Regions from separate parts of the Homo sapiens genome. Here region 2 is linked to region 1. The links are contacts of gene promoters, found by promoter capture Hi-C in blood cells and fetal thymus (Javierre and others, 2016). All regions are on one chromosome and are shown on one strand. The core of a region is centred on a gene start or on the middle of the fragment in contact, and the rest is flanking DNA. Distances in the headings are between cores, read along the strand shown. Region 1 holds the start of ONECUT3 (one cut homeobox 3). Region 2 holds the start of MEX3D (mex-3 RNA binding family member D).

Region 1 (7,379 bases), core at 2,862-5,361:
GGGCGATGCGGCGGAAGTCCCGCGCCCGGCCGTCTCCCGCGCCTGCCAGACAGAGCCCCGAGAAGAGGGCATAGAATTCCCTCCTCTAATTGTGTCCCAGAACTCTGGGACGACGGAGGCCAAGCTGCTGAGGGAGGGGACGAGGACGCGGGGCCCCAGGGACCAACCCCTCCGCTCCCCGGCCAGCCGCGGCCGCCCAGCCTCGGTGCCCCGGCGCAAACAAGCGCGGTGTTTGCCGAGCGCGAGGCGGGCGGCGCGGCCCGAGAGCGATGAGGATTCGATGGAGCCGCTCGCCGCGGCGGGGGCAACGGAGCCCGGGCGGGCGCGGGGATCGATCGGGCACAGCTGTCGCCTAAGAGCCCGCGGGAGCATCCACCCGCGGGCCAGAGCTGCCCGGGCGCCCCGCAACTGCGGGCAGGAAATCCGGGACGTCGGGCCCGCCAGGGGCGAAACCCCAAAGTCGCGACACCCGGGGTGGGGAGGTCAGGACGTCCCCACGGCCAACGTGGAACCTTCGGGAGCCGCGCGCTCAGCCTCGCCGGGACCCCCGCCAGGCCGTAAAAGCCCAGAGTCTCCCCCCAAATCTAAATAAAATCCCCAGACCCCGCCCGAACGAAGGCGGCTGGAGTCCAGAGGGAGAACTCCTGCCACACACTAGGCACCGGCGGCCGGGATTTGGGGCGCCCGCAGGTTTCGGGGGCCGGGAGTGGGAGCAGAGCGGATCTAGGGCTGCGGCTGGGCTTGGGTGGGGCGCGCATTCATTGCCATCGTTTAGTAAAACCTCGCTTTAATAAAAGCAGGGAGGGGTGCGCAGAGCCCGGACACTTTCATTTCGGTGGGAGACAAATCGAATCAGAAAGTCAGTTGGGGGCGCACTGTGCAGGGTTCTGGGGGAGCCCCAGGAAAGGAAAACTTGAGGTATCTGACTCTGCCTTTGATATTTTTAGCTGCAATGGGAGAGTCAATAACAACAGGGAAGGTGGTGTGTCCAAAAATGGGGGAGGTGTGGAGGATTAAAGAGGGGGTTCAAGCTTAGGGGGTCCGTTTAGGGAGTTTGAAGCCGTGGAGAGTGCGCACCCCTGGGGCATGGGTGGAGGCCCCCAGTCCTCCCCTCCACCCGCGGGACTCTCCAAGCCCTGAGGTTGGCAGGACCAGAGGCTGCCCTTTTTGACTCCTCCCAGACGCAGGCCAGGCACAGAGAGGGTGAGCGTTGGTCTGGGGCAGCCCAGCACCTGCTGAGGTCCCCCTCCCCAACTCCCAGACACAGACTCGGGCTCTGGGAGTCAAACTTTCATCTTCCTGGAGGGGATACTGAGGCCAGAGAGCTTCCTCGAGGTGGCTGAGGTCCCTGTGGGGTGGGGAAGGGGGACTTCTTGTCCCGATCCAGCCCACCCCTCCCCCTGCCCACAATTTGCCTAATGACCCAGGATCGATCTGGGCCTGGGCAGCCAGCCTACCCGGTGGCCGGCTCAATTCTATTTTACTAATTACTAAAAGGCTGCTGCTGGTGGGGAGAAGCAAGCTGGGGGCTCCAGGGGGCCACAGTCCCTCTCTTGGGGCCAGCAAAATTCTGTTCAATCTCTCAACGGGACCACAGCCTCTACAAGGAGTGAGATCCCCATCCCTGGGGGAGTCCAAGTGTCCATCAGCCGAAGGGAGGGGTGAGGGGCTTCGCAGACCTGGATAGGGTTAGGTCCACCAGGCTGGGCTGCCCCTTCCAAGTCTAGGGAGCTTTGGAAGGGGTCTGTGGCCACCTTAGCGTGTCCTGAGGCAGCAGAGGGGAGAGGCCCTCTTCCTCTCGGAGTCCCTGACCCTCGTCTTCTCTTTCAAAATGGATGCTTTCCCTGCTAGAAAAGCCACACACGCTTGCTATTAAAATGAACACGATCATCAAGCTGTAAAAAATATATTTAAAAGGAAGCCTGCAAAATCCCAGCTCCCTAGGAGCTCCCCCACATTGGCATTTGGGGGAACTTCCTTCCACCTTGTTATCCTCCCACCCGTAGAGACCCCCAGCCCCCACCTGGTCTGCGCTTCTTGAGCCTGGGATGCTAGCGTTTTATGGCGGCTGATTGATTTTTAGATCTCACGATTATTTTTAATTATCTGTGATTGTTGGAGGGTGAGAATGAGGAGCGCAGGCTGGGGCTCTGTGCAGCCACATCCCCCCCGCCGAGATTCAGCATCTGCACGGGGAGTGGGGTACGCGACTGTTCGGACCTGCCCCTCTCTTCCCACCTGGAAGATGGGTGTAATTATGTAAACTCCAGAAATTATACCTGAACCCTGGAACTGGAAAGTTTAGGGACCGACACTTCAGGGGGCAGGAGTTAGCACTTGGGCAGATGTAGGAATGAAGGGGGGAACTCTAGGGCCACCACCCCCCCACCTTGGGCCAGAGACACCCGGAAAAATTGTGATTTGACTTCCCCCTCTCTGGGGCTGAGAGAGGAGAGTATGCCTGGTAAATAACAGGCACTTACTAAATGCCGAGCCCTAAGCAGCGAGTACTAACAGGGGTCCCCTTCAGCCCTATCCCTCCCCAGGACTTGGATCAGGCCACCTCAGGCTGGGGGCCCAGATCATTCAGGCCCCCTCTCTCTCTGGCTGTTGTGGTCAGCATAGACTCACCTCCGGCTCCCAGCTGGGCAGGCTGGAGGGCACCCCCTCCCACACCAGAGAAGGGGAAACTGAGGCACAGAAAGGGCCCTATTCCAGAGCCAACCTAGTCTTGGTTCAGAAAATCGCATCTCCAATGTGTAGCCACGTCTACAGGGGCCAGGAAATCTGGATGCAGGTGCAAAGCTGGGGCCGGGGTTTGCCCAGAAGGTTTGCACCAAAGGGGAAGTGACAGCCTGACTGTGTCCTCCCCTCTTCCTTCAGCTTTGAGCCCTGATGCAACCCTCTGAGATGGGGGTAACTGGGGGCTCCCGCGAACCGACTGCCTGACCCATCCCCTTCCTCTTCTAGAAAGTGCACAAGCGTTACCCCGGGGGTGGGGGGGGCAGAGGCAACGGGGAAGCAGGAAGGGGCTGAGGCTGGTTTTGGACTCTGCACCGTAGCCTCTGGCCTACAAGACAGAGCATCCTCTAGATTCTGGTCTGGCCCCTCCAGATCCGCAGCCCTGACCTTACCCCACTGGCGGGATCTAGTCCCCTGGGGGTCTCTCTGATTATAGGAGCCCTTCCCCCATCTATCCCAGTTCCCAGGGGCCCCTGGGGCTCACCTGTCTCCAGGTGCTGAGAAAAAGGAGACCCCTGCCTCCCCCCACATTGAAGAGAAGCCCCAGGGACAAAGAGGAGTTTGCACCAGCGACGTCTCAGAAGACAGGGGATCCAGCCTCAGCCTCCGTGGGCTGGAGGGTGACAGGGGCTCTTAGTGGTCACCCCCAGGCTCCAGTGCCTCCAGCGGCCGCACTGTAAAAAGGCCCTGCAATTAGAAGGGGCCTTTGGCAACCCCGAGGCCGGGCAGCCCATTGTACAGTTGGGGAAACGGAGGCCCAGGTGCCCACACATGGGCAGAGGCTGACCCCTGGGGCGCACGGAGGCCCTGACCTAGCCTTAGGACCTCCCTTTTCCCCCACTTCCTCCACAAAGAGGTTGTGGGAAGGGGGCTGTGACTCCGTAGGTGTGAGTGGGAGTCGGGGGAAGCTGAGCTTGCAGTGGGGATCTAGCTCCTGGGGGTCTGTAGGGAACGGGGGGGGGGGGGGACACGTACATTACAGGCGACCGTCCAGCCACACTCCCAGAAACTCCCTGGAGATGGACTTGGGGGTGCCAGGCAGAAAGCCACATCTGGGACTCTGGAGAGAATCACACAGAGACGCGAAATCGGAGACTCTGGGTCGAGGCCCCCAGCCCCACCTGGGCAGAGTCTGTCCTCGGACCCCCGCCCGCTGTCCCCCGGGTACGGCCTGCCCCAGCGGGCGCGGGCGGGCGCAGTGGCCAGGGACGCCGAAGCCCCAAGTCTGGCCGACTTCGGCCTGCTTGGTGCTCGAGTGGGGCCGGGGCGGGCGGAGAGCGAGGCTGCGGGAGGCAGCGGTGGCAGGAGCGGGTGGGCGGGGGCGCTGACGTCAGACCCGGGCCCGGGCGCCGGCGGCCGCTCCCCTGCCACATCCTGGTGGCCGCGCTCGCAGCCGGGCCGGGCCGTGCGCCGCGCAGCCTGGCAGCCTCGCGCGCAGCCACCGGGGAGCGGGCGGGAGTCATGCAGCGGCCTTGAGCACTAGGGGCCGGCGCTGAGGAGCGCGCGCGGCGGGAGGGCAGCCGAGCATGGAGCTGAGCCTGGAGAGCCTGGGGGGCCTGCACAGCGTGGCCCACGCGCAGGCGGGCGAGCTGCTGAGCCCGGGCCACGCGCGCTCGGCGGCGGCGCAGCACCGCGGCCTGGTGGCGCCCGGGCGCCCGGGCCTGGTGGCCGGCATGGCGAGCCTGCTGGACGGCGGCGGCGGCGGCGGCGGTGGGGGCGCCGGGGGCGCGGGCGGCGCGGGCAGCGCGGGCGGCGGCGCGGACTTCCGCGGGGAACTGGCGGGCCCGCTGCACCCGGCAATGGGCATGGCCTGCGAGGCGCCGGGCCTGGGCGGCACCTACACGACGCTCACGCCCCTGCAGCACCTGCCGCCGCTCGCGGCCGTGGCCGACAAGTTCCACCAGCACGCGGCGGCCGCGGCCGTGGCCGGGGCGCACGGCGGCCATCCCCACGCGCACCCGCACCCGGCGGCCGCGCCGCCCCCGCCACCCCCGCCGCAGCGTCTGGCGGCCAGCGTGAGCGGCAGCTTCACCCTCATGCGCGACGAGCGGGCGGCGCTCGCCTCCGTGGGCCACCTCTACGGACCCTACGGCAAGGAGCTGCCCGCCATGGGGTCGCCGCTGTCGCCGCTGCCCAACGCGCTGCCGCCCGCGCTGCACGGCGCCCCGCAGCCCCCGCCGCCGCCACCACCCCCGCCGCTGGCCGCCTACGGCCCGCCAGGCCACCTGGCTGGGGACAAGCTGCTGCCGCCCGCCGCCTTCGAGCCGCACGCCGCGCTGCTGGGACGCGCGGAGGACGCACTGGCCCGCGGGCTGCCCGGAGGCGGCGGCGGCACAGGCAGCGGCGGAGCGGGCAGCGGGAGCGCCGCGGGGCTGCTGGCGCCGCTGGGCGGGCTGGCGGCGGCCGGGGCGCACGGGCCGCACGGGGGAGGCGGCGGCCCCGGCGGGAGCGGCGGCGGCCCCAGCGCGGGCGCAGCGGCCGAGGAGATCAACACCAAGGAGGTGGCGCAGCGCATCACGGCGGAGCTGAAGCGCTACAGCATCCCGCAGGCAATCTTCGCGCAGCGGATCCTGTGTCGCTCTCAGGGCACGCTCTCCGACCTGCTGCGCAACCCCAAGCCGTGGAGCAAGCTCAAATCCGGCCGCGAGACCTTCCGCAGGATGTGGAAGTGGCTGCAGGAGCCAGAGTTCCAGCGCATGTCGGCGCTGCGCTTGGCAGGTAGGAGCGTGGCGCGCAGGGCCAGACCCTGGGGGCGCCGGCTCTGGACTCCCGAGCACCTAGCGGGGCGGCGGCCGATGCCCGGGGCCAGCGCCCCAAGCCCCGCCCGTGCGCCCCGGCAGCCCGGGACCCCCTATCAGGAAGCTAGACCGCGATCCGCGCCGCTGCCCGTTTGTACCGTTGCCAAAAGGGAGAAAGGGATTGTGCCGCCTCCCCGCCCCCCGGTCGCCGCTTCTGCCCCTTTCGGGAGCGCGTAGGGGTTCTCTAGTCCTTGTTAGACTGCTGGGAGGCTCCGAGCCTCTCCCCAAGCAGCCCTCAGGGAAGCTCATTGTGTGTGTGCGTGTGTGTGTGTGAGCGCGCGCCTGTTGGGGGGAGCTGTGTCCCCGAACGAGCTGCTGTTGTCGGCTAAGGTGCCACTCCCCTCCTCCAGAGTGGGTGGAGAGGGGCTGTTGAGCCCCCAGCCCCGGGCCACAGAGCTCCGAGACGTTGCGGCGGGCGCCTGCAGCTCAGCAGCAGAGGCCGAGCCCGCGCTCATCCCCCCACCTGCCCCAGCGCGCGCTTCTTTGTAGTTCGGCCCCGCGATCGATACCCCCTCCCTCTCCCCTCCGGCCGCTGGCAAAGGTCACCCGAGAATGGCGGGGGAGGGGCGGCCCCGGGGACCCTCGGCCCGCGCCGCCCGGAGGCCTTCACACCCCGACCCGGCGCCCGCCCCGCGCAGTTTGGTCGTGGCTCGGGTGCGCGCGCCCCTGCCCGCCTGGCTTTGGGGTTTTGTGTCTCTCATGTCCACTTCTCTCCTCTCTCGGTCGGAACACACTGGTATCTCTATGTTTTTCTCTTGCTCTCCGTTTTGCTCTTGTTCCTGCTCATTATCTCTTCTCCCTGTCGGTCTCTCCGCCTCTGTCTCTGTCTCATACTCAGCCACCGGCCCCCTGGGGACCCTCCTCCCTCCTCCCTCCCAGCTGACAACAGCTAAGTCCACACCTGCCCTCTGACAGGCAGCCCGGCCAGGCCCCCATTTCCTAGGTGGGGGTGTAAGGGTGCAGGAGGGCCCCTGGCCTAGGTGGGGGTTTCTTTCCCTGGTGGTGCTGGGGAGGGGGCTGTCCACCCGGGCCACAGGGACAATAGCCGCGGCGGCTGGCGCCTGATCGATCGCTTCTCCGAGCACAAGGGCGAGAAAGGCGGGGGCTCTGGGAGGCGCCCCACTAGCAAAGAGGCAGAGGGGCTTGCGGCTGTGCCCCCAGGCAGCCCGTCCAGGCAGGGGGGCTGGGCGAAGAGAGGACAGCGGGGTGTCCTGTGCTGTTCCTCCCTAGAAAGCCATTCCCTCCCTCCACCCCAGGAGGACCAGACAACCCCCTGGGAGCCTGGACCCACAGGCCGGCCTCAGTTTCCCCCTTCTGCAGAGCAAGCAAGGTGACTAGCTGGAACCTCTTATGGGATTCTTAGATTTTTCTGCTTTGGGGCACGGGAAAATAAATAGTCTTTCGCGTGTGGCAGGGTAACCTTGTGCTCAGGGAGGTCCGGGAACCTGGACGATTTCAGTCTGTCCTGCTCCCCTCCCCATGACACATACAGCGGCACTCGTGCGCTCACCATAGACCGGCGGTCATATCCGCACACAGCCACGGCCCTCGAGGTGCAGTGCGAGGCCTCAGGTGGCAGAGGGCACACCCCTGGCAGCTCTATTTATTTATTGAGACGGAGTTTCACTCTTGTCGCCCAGGCTGTAGTGTAGTGGTGCGATCTCGGCTCACTGCAGCCTCTGCCTCCCAGGTTCAAGCGATTCTTCCGCCTTAGCCTCCTGAATAGCTGGGATTACAGACGCCCGCCACCACGCCTGGCTATTTTTTTTTTTTTTTTTTTTTTTTGTATTTTTAGTAGAGATGGAGTTTCACCATGTTGGCCAGGCTGGTCTCAAACTC
Region 2 (7,379 bases), core at 2,866-5,365, 190 kb before region 1:
GGCTTAGCACACAGTAGACCCTCAATAAAGATCTAGCCAATGGCCAGGCGCAGTGGCTCACACCTGTAGTCCCAGCACTCTGGGAGGCTGAGGTGGGTGGATCACCTGAGGTCAGGAGTGTGAGACCAGCCTGGCCAACATGGCGAAACCCCGTCTCTACTGAAAATACAAAAACCAGCTGGGCATAGTGGCACGTGCCTGTAATCCCACATACTAGGGGGGCTGAGGCAGGAGGATCGCTTGAACCTGGGAGGTGGAGCTTGCAGTGAACCGGGATCGTGCCATTGCACTCCAGCCTGGGCAACAGAGCGAGACTCCATCCCAAAAAAAAAAAAAAAAAAAGATATAGCAAATGAATGAACTGGAGCCTCCAGCAGATGGGTGGGAACTCAGAGGGTTTGAATGACCACAGTCTGCCCAGAAAGCACTCGGACCCCCTCTAGGATCAAGAGAACTGAAGCTCAGAGAACAGCACGTAGCTACTGGGGAGAGGGCTGGTGCCAGGCCTGTGTGACTCTTGTCTAGGTGGGGAGGCCGGACAGGTGCACCCTTCCTGGCCTCCAGGGAAGGGGTAACCTTGGAGCTTGGGTTTGACAGAGAAGCATGAGAAGTTCAGAGAGCCCCAGGGTGGAGAGGAAGGTGAGTAAAGGGGCAGGGCCGGGGCACAAAGGACATTGAAAGGTATGCTTGAGAACGGGGTGGGTGGGAGAAGCTGGGAGCCACAGATGGTTCTACAGTGTGGAAGAAGTACAGACTACCGAAGCTGTGGAAGACGTAAGGACTACTGAAGCTGCCAACCTGTCCTGGCATCCACAGTTGCATCCCTGGCAACGCGCACTCCACTTATGGGGTGGCCACTGTGTGTGACCTGGAGCTGGGATTAAAACCAGCAACTTGGGTCCAGGCATAGTGGCTCACACCTGTAGGAACCCCAGCACTTTGGGTGGCTGAGGATCGCTTGAGGCCAGGAGTTCAAGACCAGCCTGAGCAACAGAGCAAGACCCTGTCTCTACAAGAAAAACTTTATAATAAAAACAAATAAATAAAACTGGCCGTGCGCAGTGGCTCACGCCTGTAATCTCAGCACTTTGGGAGGTGGAGGTGGGCGGATCACTTGAGGTCGGGAGTTCGAGACCAGCCTGGACAACATGGTGAAACCCCGTCTCTACTAAAAATACAAAAATCAGCTGAGCGTGGTGGCTCACACTTGTAATCCCAGCTACTCAGGAGGCTGAGGCAGGAGAACTGCTTGAAACCAGAAGGCGGAGTTTGCAGTGAGCCCAGATCACGTCACTGCACTCCAGCCTGGGCGACAGAGCGAAACTCCGTCTCATAAATAAATAAATAAAACCAGCATCTTGCCCCAGAATCCTCTACCCTAATGGAGGTGAGACGTCCGCACATCACAGAGAGGGGCCGTCATCTGCGCAGGGCCACGGCGGCCTGCAGGACAAGCAATCAGGGCCCACTCTACCCCCGACCCCCACTGTACCCCAGGGCCTGCCTTGCTGACGGCCACCAGCAAGAGCCCAGTAAGTGGGTGCAGAACGCACAGGCCAGAGGTGGGGGCTGAGCCTGGTGCCCACAGACTCCATTTCCCATGGACCTGCCCCTAGAGAATTCCCACCCTGAGGCCACAGGTCTAGAAGCTCTCAGCCTGACGCTGATTCCTGCCAGCTCCCCATGTGGCCATAGCCTCGCTCAAAGGCCCTTGGGTGCCAGGACAAGCGCGTTCACAAAGAACACAGCCACAGCCTCCACCACCTGGAGGCTCAGGCTCGTGCCTTTGGTCACTTGGTCCCCAGGCCTCGGCTTGGACGCCTGTCTCCACAGGCTCCCAGACACTCCGCACAGGGCAGCTGTCCCGTTCTAGGCCCTGGGTATGGGACATGGAGGCCGGGTGGAAGGCCTCAATGGGGAGGCAGTAACAGGATGGTAGGGCGCCCTCCTGCCAGGGGGTCCCACCAAGGGCAGCCAGCAGGACTGAGACAGAACCCAGTCCCTCCCCACCCACCACTCCAGAGCATGCTTCCTGGGGCCAGCACCATGCCTGACCCTCCGTGGGTCCCCACATGAGCTGGACAAATGAACGACCAAAAGACAGGAGGCTGTGGTGCCCCACCCACCTGGACCGAGGGAAAGGGCGGAGGGGAGGGCGCCCTGGTGGTCCCCCGCCTGAGGCCAGGGCCATAGATGACCTTGCAATCCCAGCCCCCCACACCTTTCTCTGGCCTGGATTCCCGAGGGCCCCGGGGAGGCAGGGACCCCCAGCCCAAGTGTCCTGCGGCCCCACCACCAGCCCCGCCAAGGCCCCACCCCAAGTTCTAGAACCTGGCTGATCACTGGCGGTCAGCGGGGACCCAGGAGCGGGGAGGGGTGGCGGGAAGGCAGGAGAAAGTTGAGGGAGGCAGGCGGGCGGGTGGCTAACGGGGTGGTGGGTGTGAGCTGGGCCAGGCACTGCCCACCACCCGCCCGCCCGCCCCGCAGCTCGGGGGCCAATGAGCAGCGGCCGGCCTGATGTCACCCTGCAAATCTCAGCCTCGCTCTCTAACAAAGAGAACAATGGGGCGGCCAGAGGGAAGCTCCGACGATGCCACCGCTGGACCCCACACCCGGGGCCTGCCGCCCGCCGGCCTGCCCAGCAGGCTGCACCCCAGAAGTGGCTTTGACAGCCGGTCCTTCCCCAGGCCCCGAAATCCCTGACTCGGGGCCAGAGAGTGGAGCAGGGACCCTCTCCTGCCCGGTCCCGTCCCCACCCCAGTCAGGGCCCCAGGCTGGAGACTGAGACGTGCGCTCTTTGTACTGTCAGCCTTCTCTCCCGGTCCTGCAGGCGGCCCCCCTAAGCCACCCCTAAACCTGCGCTTGCCCCGCCCCGCCGCCTGTGCTGGGTGTGGGGCGCCCCCCGCCCGGCCGGAGCCCCGGGCCCTCGAGCCCCTCTCTGGGGTGCCCCTGCGGGCGGCCGAGGGCCTGGGCTGCGGCGCGGCTCCCCGGAGCCTTTCCGGGCTGGAGGCGGCCCAGACAAAGGCGGCGGCGGGGCCGGAGCGCGCAGGGGAGGAGCGCGGGCTGCGCCCAACTTTCTCCCGCGGCGGCTGCAGGACAAAGGCGCAAAGGCAGCGGCCGAGGCCGGAGCCCACGCGGGGCGTGTCCGGTGCGGGGCGTCCGGCGCGGGCTGGGCTGGGCTCGGGCGACCCCCTTCCCCGGGGCGGACGGTGCGGGGACCCCCAGGACAGCAACCCCCGACGAGGGCCACTCACCCTGGCGACCCACGATCTCGGCGACGTGCTCGGAGCTGGGCACCGGGACGCACTCGGTCATGTTGACGCTTTTCTTGCGGCTGCCGATCACGCTCATCTGGTCGGCCAGCAGCGTCGGGGGCCCCAGGGCCGCGGGGTGGGGCGCGAAGCCCGCGAACACGTCGGGGGGCGACGGCCGGGGCGGCGGCGGCGGCGGGGGACTCGCGTTGGGGTCCAGCAGCGGCAGCGACCCGGGGGCCACGGCGGGGGCCAGGGTCGGGGGCGCGCCGGCCTCAGGTCCGTCGGGGGGCACAGGCTCCGGAGCCGCCCCGCCGTCCGCGCCCCCCGCCGCCGCTGCGCCGTCCCCGGCCGCCCCCTCCTCGTCCGTGTCGCCAGCGCCCCCCAGCCCGAGCGCCGACAGCTGGTCCAGCGCCAGGCGGAGCGCGGCGGCCGCGTCGTCGGGTTCGGGCGGCGGCCGGGGCGCGGGCGCGGCCTCCTGGGCGCCCTCGGGCGGGGGCGCAGGTCCGGGTCCGGGGTCCTCCCCCGCCGCCCCCACGCCGCCGCCGCCGCCGCCCCCGCCCCCGCCGCCGTCGGGCTGGCCGAGCGAGCTGGGCATGGCGGGAGCTAGCGCTGGGGCCCGCGCTCCTGCCGCCCGCGCCGCCGCCGCCGCCCGCGCCGCCCTCCGCCTCTGCGAGCTGGGCCGCCGGCCGCCTGCATCCAGCGGCGGGGGCGGGCACGGGGGGCCGGGCGGGCGGGGCGGCGGCGGCGCGGGGCTGCTCGGGGCCGGGCCGGGCCGGGCCGGGCGGCGGCAGCGACTCTGGCTGCGGCTCGGCGGCGGCGGCGACGGCGGCGGCGGCTCCTCGGCGGCCGAGGCGGCGGCGGCGGCGCGGGACGCTCCTTCCCTCCCGCCGCCTCCCGCGGCCCCGCCCCGGCCCCGCCCCCGCGACGTCACGCCGCGGCCCAACAATGGGCGGCCCCCAGGGCGCAGGCGCGCGGGGCGGGGCCGGGGCGGGGCCGGCGCCGGGCACGTGGTCCAGGCCCCGCCTCCGCCCGGCGCTCGGGCGGGAACCCGGGCGCATCCGCACGTGCGGGCGCTGCTGCAGGTGTGTGCGGCTCAGCCCCTGCCTGGACAGCGCTCCCTCCCCAAGCCTGAGAGTCCCTGCCTCGCGCGCCCCAGGGCCCGAGGTCCCGCTCCCCAATTTCCCCTAGAGATCCGGGTCGCCCCCAAGCGAGGTCTCTTGCTCCACGCCCGCTTCCTTGTGCCAGGGACCCCCACCTCCCTGCATAAAGGCGTGGGGTCCTCTCCAAGTCCCCCTCGCGATCCCACTGGACTTCGAAGTCAGGCTCCTGCCCGCCCACCGCCTCTGTGCCAGGGTCCAACCCCCGCCCCACGGTGCACCCCCCAGGGCCTGGGGTCCCAGTCCCCAAGTACCCCTTGCTATCAGGTGGGCTTTAGGGTCAGGCCCCTGCCCCACCCCCAGCCTCTGTGCCAGGGACAGCTCCACAATCATGCACACCCCAGGGCCTGAGGTCCCTCTCCCCTAGTCTCTCCTAGCTCCCCTCTGGCTGGCTCCCGGCTTTGGGATCAGGCCACCTCCTCCACGCCACCTCCTCCGCCCCACCCAAGGCCACAGACCCGGTCTCTGTGCCCCCAGCCAGAGACCTCTCTACCACAGTGGTGCTTCCATGGCGAGGGCAGGCTCACACCAGCCAGAACCCTCCATGTGGAGCCCCACCCTCTTCTGGGGTGCCTTTCCCCGCAACGGGCGTTGTCCACCTCTAAAGCCACCCTTGCCGGGCGCGGTGGCTCATGCCTGTCATCCCAGCAGTTTGGGAGGCCGAGGCGGGTGGATCACGAGGTCAGGAGTTAGAGACCAGCCTGGCCAACATGGTGAAACCCCCGACTCTACTAAAAATACAAAAATTAGCCAGGCGTGGTGGCGCGCACCTGTAATCCCAGCTACTCAGGAAGCTGAGGCAGGATAATTGCTTGAACCCTGGAGGTGGTGGTTGCAGTGAGTCGAGATTGCACCACTGCACTCCAGCCTGGTTGACAGAGCAAGACTCCTCTCAAAAAAAAAAAAAAAAAAAAAAAATAGCCGCTTTCCCAGCGGCTCTTCCTCCAGCTGTCCTTCGGGGCCTTCCTTGCACCTGTGGGGTTTTTTGTGATAAACCTGTCTGGCTGGGTCTACCTGCCCCCCTCTTCTACCAGACCTGTCCCTGGCTGGCTGTGCAAACTTGGACCGAAGGCAGGGCTCTCTGGGCAGGAGTGGGGCAGCCTGCCCCTTTGCCTAGCAAGGCTTCTCCTCTGTCCCCTCCCCCCGCCTCACACACCCTGGGTCCCCCTCAGCCACTCTTCTAGTCCCTCAGCCACAGCCACCCACTGCTGGGCCCTTCACTTTTGGTGGCTTCTCTGCCCACTTCTTCCAGGCAGGCAGGGTCAGGATCCCCCTGCCTGGAGCCCTTCCCCACCCAAAATCTCTCTCCTGACCCCAGGCTGCATCCAGCCCCACTTCCCCTCCTGGGGTCCTGGACTTCTCTTTCGTGCACGCCCATGCTTGGAATTGTTTTTCTATCTCTCTTTCTTTCTCTCTTTCTTTTTTTCTCTTTCTTTCCTTTTTTTCTTTCTTTCTTCCTTTCTTTCTTTTCTTTTTCTTTCTTTCTCTTTCCTTTCTTTCTCTTTTTTCTTTTCCTTTTCTTTCTTTCCTTTTTTTCTTTCTCTTCCTTTTCTTTTTTCTGTCTTTCTTTCCTTCTTTCTTTTCTTTCTTCTCCTTCCTTCCTTGCTTCCTTCCTTTTCTTTCATCCTTTATTTCGTTCTTCATTTCTTCTTTTCTCTCCCTTCCTTCCTTCCTTCCTTCTTTCTTTCTTTTTTTTTTTTTAGACGGAGTCTCGCTCTGTCACCCAGGTTGGAGTGCAGTGGTGCAGTCTTGGCTCACTGCAAGCTCCGCCTCTGGGTTCACGCCATTCTCCTGTCTCAGCCTCCCGAGTGGCTGGGACTACAGGTGCCTGACGCCACACCCAGCTAATTTTTTGTATTTTTTGTAGAGACAGGGTTTCACCGTATCAACCAGGATTCTCCCTTCCTTCTCTGCTCCCCTCCCCTCTCCTCTCCTTTCCTTTTCTTTCTTTTTCGGACAGAGTCTTGCTCTGTTGCCCAGGCTGGGGTGCAGTGGCTATTCACAGGTGTGACCCCAGGACAGATCAGCATGAGAGCTTTGACCAGCTCCGTCTCTGACTTGGGTAGGTTCAGCCCTCCTTAGGCAACCTGGTGGTCCTCCCAGTCCAGGGAGGTCATCATATTAATGTAGACGCTGGATCAGCATAGCTCACTACAGCTCAGAACTCCCGAGCTCAAGCAATCCTCCCGCCTCAGCCTCCTGAGTAGCTGGGACCACAGGTGTGCACCACCACACCGGGCTACTTTTTGTATTTGTAGAGACAGGGTCCTTTTTGTTGCCCGGGCTAGTCTTGAACTCCTAACCTCAAGCAATCCTCCTGCCTCAGCCTCCCAAACTGCTGGGACTACAGGTGGGTAACACTATGCCCAGCCACTTGCAATTATTAATGGCATTGTCAGCCGGGCGCCGGGCGCGGTGGCTCACGCCTGTCTTCCCAGCACTTTGGAAGTCCAAGGCAGGTAGATCACCTTAGGTTAGGAGTTCTATATCAACCTGGCCAACACGGTGAAACCCTGTCTCTACTAAAAATATGAAATGAGCCGGGTGTGGTGGCGTGAGCCTGTAGTGCCAGCTGCTTGGGAGGCTGAGGCAGGAGAATCGCTTGAACCCGGGAGGTGGAGGTTGCAGCAAGTTGAGATCACACCACTGCACTCCAGCCTGGGCAACAGAGCAAGACTCTGTCTCAAAAACAAACAAACAAACAAAGAAAAAACCCTGTGTCTAATAAACAAATGAATTTATGAATGAATGAAGCAATGAATATTTAATTCTTTCCCAGTTTTGGAGCCTCAGAGTCAAAACTCAAGGTGTGCGCAGGGCCGCGCCCCCTTCAAAGGCTCTGGGGAGCGTCCTTTCTGCCTCTTCCATCTTCTGGGGGCTCTGGGCCTCATCGCTCATTGTGGCCTCATCGCTCATTGTGGCCTCATCGCTCATTGTGGCCGCATCGCTCTGACCTCGGCCTCTGTCT

What was found. The method cuts DNA at HindIII sites, captures the fragments that hold promoters and counts their contacts. A CHiCAGO score of 5 or more calls a contact.
Region 2: the fragment with the promoter of MEX3D here is called in contact with the fragment with the promoter of ONECUT3 in region 1 in 2 of 17 cell types (total B cells and erythroblasts); the score reaches 7.6 in total B cells.

Annotation. Positions count from the first base shown.
Region 1 is chr19:1,749,395-1,756,773 of GRCh38, forward strand. It overlaps ONECUT3 (one cut homeobox 3), which reads left to right and starts at 4,112. Exons shown (of 2, transcript NM_001080488.2): 1 at 4,112-5,460. The coding sequence starts at 4,269. The HindIII fragment of the contact is 18,116 bases long and covers 1,030-7,379 here.
Region 2 is chr19:1,564,210-1,571,588 of GRCh38, forward strand. It overlaps MEX3D (mex-3 RNA binding family member D), which reads right to left and starts at 4,116. Exons shown (of 2, transcript NM_203304.4): 1 at 3,255-4,116. The coding sequence starts at 3,849. It also overlaps the pseudogene RN7SL477P. RefSeq lists silencers at 4,116-4,305, 4,346-4,395. The HindIII fragment of the contact is 12,069 bases long and covers 1-7,379 here.